2 separate regions of the Homo sapiens genome follow, and region 2 is linked to region 1. The links are contacts of gene promoters, found by promoter capture Hi-C in human tissues and cell types (Jung and others, 2019). All regions are on one chromosome and are shown on one strand. Each heading gives the region's core, a stretch centred on a gene start or on the middle of the fragment in contact. The rest is flanking DNA. Distances are from core to core; before and after follow the strand shown.

The links. Contacts are between HindIII fragments. The study calls those that stand out against the background at their distance.
Region 2: a contact is called between the fragment with the promoter of CACNG7 here and the fragment with the promoter of CACNG8 in region 1, in 1 of the 25 tissues and cell types used here (dorsolateral prefrontal cortex).

What each region holds. Positions count from the first base shown.
Region 1 is chr19:53,961,517-53,964,281 of GRCh38, forward strand. CACNG8 (calcium voltage-gated channel auxiliary subunit gamma 8) reads left to right here and starts at 1,421. Exons shown (of 4, transcript NM_031895.6): 1 at 1,421-1,909. The coding sequence starts at 1,627. RefSeq lists an enhancer at 262-782. The HindIII fragment of the contact is 7,710 bases long and covers 1-2,765 here.
Region 2 is chr19:53,907,945-53,910,709 of GRCh38, forward strand. CACNG7 (calcium voltage-gated channel auxiliary subunit gamma 7) reads left to right here and starts at 1,334. Exons shown (of 6, transcript NM_031896.5): 1 at 1,334-1,573. The HindIII fragment of the contact is 9,573 bases long and covers 86-2,765 here.

The sequences.
Region 1 (2,765 bases), core at 171-2,670:
AGAGGGTGGGGGTTTTCCTGGAGTAAAGGCATAGTATGGGGTGGGGAGTGAGTGGCTTGTGGGGAGACAGTGGGGGCTGTGACAGGGAATGGGCTGGAGATGGCGGGGGGGGGGCAGCTTGCAAACCAGTGGGTCTGATGTTGGGTGCATTAGAATTCCCCAGGGAGCTTTTAAAAACTTACATGCGCAGGCCACACTGCAGACCAACCATGTCGGACTTTCTCAGGTGGGACTCAAACATCCGAATTTTTAAGGTCCTCGGGTGATTTCCAGGTGTGTTGGAGGCTGCCCGAGGCAGGAAGGGGGCTTCCAGGGAGAGGAGGCTGACTGAGGGTGGCTGGTGATTCCGAGTTGCACAAACTGTGAGGGTCAGCTGGGATTTTCTTTTTCTTTTTCTTCTTCTTTTAATTTTTCCTTTTTAGTTGAAGAGAGGTTGAGAGATTTATTTTTTCCTAAGGAGAGGAAACTGTGGGGGACCATTTGGAGTGATGGAATGACAAAAGCCAGACCGGAGGGGGCTCGCGGAGGTTACTCCCACGGAAGTGGTGCTACTCGGGCTTCTTAAGTTGTGGAGACGCTCAGGGAAAAGTTGGGCTGACAGGGAAGGGTTCTAGCGGGTGGAGAGGTGGGGCTTGCAGGGGAAGAGTGGGGAGAGCTGGTGGGCGCCGCATGGTGATGGGGCGGGGGTCGCTAAGGAAGGAAGAACGCGACGGGGGCTCCTGGGGAGGAGGCGGCGGCGTGGGGCTTGGCATCATGGCGGGGGGTGGCTTCCCATGCGATGAGGATCGTGGAGCCCCCTGGGGCGGAGGCGGCGCGGGCTAGGGGCGAGGGCTGTGAGTGTGAGCGGTGGTGGGGACTCCTCCGAGTGGGGTTAGTGGGATGGTGGGACGACTTTCTTGGGCAGAAGACAGGAGTGGAGAGAGATTTCATCTTATTTATTAATTATTAGCGGTGGTGGGGACTCCTCCGAGTGGGGTTAGTGGGATGGTGGGACGACTTTCTTGGGCAGAAGACAGGAGTGGAGAGAGATTTCATCTTATTTATTAATTATTAGCGGTGGTGGGGACTCCTCCGAGTGGGGTTAGTGGGATGGTGGGACGACTTTCTTGGGCAGAAGACAGGAGTGGAGAGAGATTTCATCTTATTTATTAATTATTAGCGGTGGTGGGGACTCCTCCGAGTGGGGTTAGTGGGATGGTGGGATGACTTTCTTGGGCAGAAGACAAGAGTGGAGAGAGATTTCATCTTATTTATTAATTATTATTATTATTATTATTATTATTATTATTTTTGAGAAAGAGAAGCAGTGGAGCCCCGAGTGGAAGGAGTTTCTGGAGCTGAGGCAGGGATTTTGGGGGGGGGGGGGCGGGGACTGGGGGAGGTACCTGTGCCTTCTTCTCCTCTAATGCGAGATCTCGCTCCTTGCCCTCCACCAGCCGCCGACCATGGCCGCGCTCTGACCCCCTCCCCGGCCGCAGCCTCCTCCTCGCCGCCCCCCTCCCCAGCCCCGCCGGCCCCGGGCCCCCCGCTTCTGCCTGCGCTGTGAACCCCCCCCCAGCCGCCGGCACGGCCCCGCCCCCGCTGCCCCGGTGGTGGCCCACGGCCCCCCGGCTGCCCGTGGTCAAACTGGAGTCGCTGAAGCGCTGGAACGAAGAGCGGGGCCTCTGGTGCGAGAAGGGGGTGCAGGTGCTGCTGACGACGGTGGGCGCCTTCGCCGCCTTCGGCCTCATGACCATCGCCATCAGCACTGACTACTGGCTCTACACGCGCGCCCTCATCTGCAACACCACCAACCTCACGGCCGGCGGCGACGACGGGACCCCCCACCGCGGGGGCGGCGGCGCCTCGGAGAAGAAGGACCCCGGCGGCCTCACGCACTCGGGCCTCTGGAGGATCTGCTGCCTGGAAGGTAGGGTGCGGGCGGCCCTCCCCGCAGCCCCCGCCGCTCCCCTCCGAGAGACCCTGAGCCTCCCGGGGCTGCCTGTCCCTGATCCTGGGGCCCCCTTGGGCACCCCTCCTCCTCTGCCAGAGGGGCTTCTGCGCCTTCCCACTCGCGCCCCTGACCTCCTCTCCCCTCCTTCCCACTCCTCCCTGCGTCCTGGCACCCTGCGGAATTCCTCGGCATGCTCCCTCTGCAGCCCCTCTGCCTCTCCGCTGAACCCCCTTATCCTATCTTTCCCTAGTCCGTGTCTCCTGCGCTGCCCCATCACACCCCTGCATCTTCCCTCTCTCCAGTACCTGGGGCTCCTCCTGTTTCATTTCTTCCACTCTGCCCTGTGCCTTTTCTCTTTTTTTTTTTTTTTTTGACAAGGTCTCACTCTGTCGCCCAGGCTGGAGTACGGTGGCACAATCACAGCTCACTGCAGCCTCGAATCCCTAGGCTCAAGCCATCCTCCCACCTCTGCCTCCTGAGTAGCTGGGACCACAGGCATGAGCCACTGTGCCCAGCTAATTTTTTTTATTATTTGTAGAGATGAGGTCTCCTGTTGCCCAGGCTGGTCTCGAGCTCCTGAGCTCAAGAGATCCTCCTGCCTTGGCCTCCAAAGTGCTGGGATGAAGGGCATGAGCCACTGCACCCAGCAGCCTCTTTCTCCCTCTTTCCCGTCAGTTCATCTTGACCCTGCTCCTCCGCTCCACCTGCCCCTTCATTTCCTCTCCCTCGTGCCCCGTGACATCTTCTCTCTCCCGACATTTCCCCCCCAGTCCTCTGAAGTCCCCTGCCTCTCCCGCCCCCTTTCACGGCCCAGTCTTCCGGTCTGTCTCTT
Region 2 (2,765 bases), core at 84-2,583, 54 kb before region 1:
CAGCGCGTCCGTGTTCACCAGAGCAGCCACGCAAGCTCACATGCACCCCCAGGCTCAGACACCGGGGAGAAGTCCTTCCCAAGCGGGGAGATCACAGTCTGGCCTCTTCTTGAGAGACCTAGAGACCTGATCAGAGGAAGAGACCCCCACGCCAGAGCAACCAAAAACAGCCAGAACCCGAGAGCCTAGGAATCGGCGACGGAGGCACACGGCAGGCAGACGCGCCTTCTGGGCCTCTTTCCCTTGACCCACTTGAGAGTCTGGGGAGTGCCGGGGACCGTGCAGATGGACTACATTTCCCCGCAGGCCTCGCGGCAGACCCTTCCCCCAAGTGCGGCTCCTTGCCGCCAGGGCTGATGGGAAATGTAGTCTCCGGTCAGGGCCAGACCAGTGGAGCGGTGTGCCTTGTCTGTGTGTTTGGAGGGGACTGAGCCCCAAAGCTTCGCAGTCTTCCTTGCGGACCCGGGCACGTCTTCTTCCCTGCAGTCTCCTGGGTTTCCATGACCCGGTCCGGGTGGATGCTGGGGCTGCCCCTCTCTCCCTCATCACCGCCGCGACACCCCCATCCAGTGCCCGCAGGCCCCAGCCCCCGCTCCGACCCTCGGCGGGCGGCCTGCCCCTTTAAGAGTGGCCCCGCTGACATCACGGCGGGGGGGGGGGGTGGCCCGGCTCCTGGCTCCGCGGCGGCTGCAGGACCCGACTCCGCTCTGCGCCCGCCCGCTGCTGTAGGGACCCCGGCCCGGGACGCCCCCTCCCGCTTCCTGCAGCCGTCCAGACCCCAGGCTCCGCCCCAGGCCTGGCTAGAGCCCCAGTCCTCGTCAGGGGACCCCCAGGATTGTCCCTGCTGTCTCTCCTTCTCAGAGTCTCTCTCTGTCTCTCTCTGTCTCTCTGTCTCTCTCTCTCTGCCTCTGTCTCTGTCTCTTCTCCAAGCTCAAGGTCTCTGGGTCTCAGCATCTCTCAGCCCCAGGCCTCTGGGCGTCCCCCTGTCTCTTTCTGTCTCTTCCTGGTCTCTGACCTCTCCACTTCCCAGGCCTCAGAATCTCTGCGCCTAGGTGGTGAGGGGTGGTCTTAAACTCTGTCTCTCTCCCTCTTTGTCTCTCTCTGTCTCTGTGTCTCCTTCAGTCTCCAGACCTGAGTCCCTGGATTTCTCGGCCTCAAGGTCTCGGCGTGACTTTCTCTCTCTGCCCTGTCTCTCTTTGTGCCTCTGCCCCTCTCGGGCTCTCTGCCTCTGTTTCTATTCTCTCTCCCTCTCTGCCTCCCCCATCCTCAAGGCCCATCTCCCTCCCTCGCTGCATCCTTCCCCCCTTCCCTCCCCGCCCCTCCCCTCCTCCGCAGTAGCCAATGAGCGGCCGCCGGTTCCTGCTCCCGGCTCCGTCCGCCGAGTGAGGCCGCGGCCGCGGGGGGTGGGGGGTGGGAGGCCGGGAGGGGGCCGGGACGCCGGGCTCCGGGGCGGGGGCGGGGGGCGCGGGCACCGGCGACCCCGGTGGCGGCGGCGGCGGCCGGGGGAAGCCTCGGGGCCGGTCATGCGGCTGCGGGGCCCGCGGCCCGGAGCGTCCGCCCAGCCCTGAGCGAGGTGAGCGCTAGCGGAGGGTCCTGGGAGGAAGAAGGGGCGCCCCTCGAGGTGGCTGCGAGCCGGGTTTGGGGCAACAAGGGACCCGAGTGGCTCCAGGGGTGGTGAGATCCTGGCGGTCGGGACGCCCGAATTCGAGCGGCTATGGGGGATGCAGGGACACCTGGGCCTGGCGATCCCGGAGGACGGGGTCCGAGGGTCCCGGAGTGGGAAACTGCACTCCTCGCGTCCGAGTCGCAGCGAGCGTGGGCTGGGGAGGGCAGAGGCCGGGTCCCTGAGGAAGGCGAGGTACGGGGCGAGGGCGGAGGACCCAGGCCCGGCCAGAGCAGGATGTGGGTCTGGAAAGGGGTCCCAGAAAGGGGGAGTTACGGTCTCCCGAGAGATGGAGGAGAGATGGAGTTTGGGCTTAAGACTTGCAGAAGGGGACCCCGGAGATTCAAATGCCTGAATCCGGGAAAGGGTGGGAGAAAGAGGGAGAAGAGGAGGCTTCAGGCCTGGGGGGAGGGTCCCAAAGGAGGAAAGGCTGGAGGAATAAGGAGATCTGGGCGGGCCAGTGAGAGGGAGGAGGAATTGGAGCAAGGTTGGGTTTTAAAACGGGGTGCGAGAATGTGGAGAAGGGACGAGGTCCCAGCTGAGAGTCAGAGGGGCGAAAGGGGGAAGCTGAGATCGGCTACCTGGGATGGAGGCAGCCAGGGTGGCCAGGGTGATGGTGCCCGTTTCCGAGCCCACAGGGCTGCGAGGGGACCAGGCAGCTCGCGGTCAAACCCCTGAGCCGCCAGGCGGGGGATGGGAGGAAAAGCTGGCCAGAGCGTTCCCTGACTCCGGATCTCGGAGGCCTCCAAGAGGTTGGGGGGGAAGGAGGGGGGATCTGGAGGCTGGGAGTGCGGGGTGGAGCGGGGAGGAGTGAGGGTTGTCTCAGACTCCAGAGTCTTTATTCAGGTGGAGCAGAGTTGCAAGGTTAGAAGAATTCTGGTGAAGGAAAGTGGAGTTTTATGTCTTGATTAGTTTGTAGGGGAGAATGTTGAGGGGTCTCAACCTTCATAGTTAAAAAGATCCCGGGTATTCAGGGATGTAGAGGTCTCTGGTTGATAAAGGCTAAGGGTCCCAAGTTGAGACCCCCAAATCACGGGATTGCGTGGCTTGGGGAAAAATCTTGCAGGGGTCGGGGGAGAATCGTGGGTAAGGAATTTCAAGT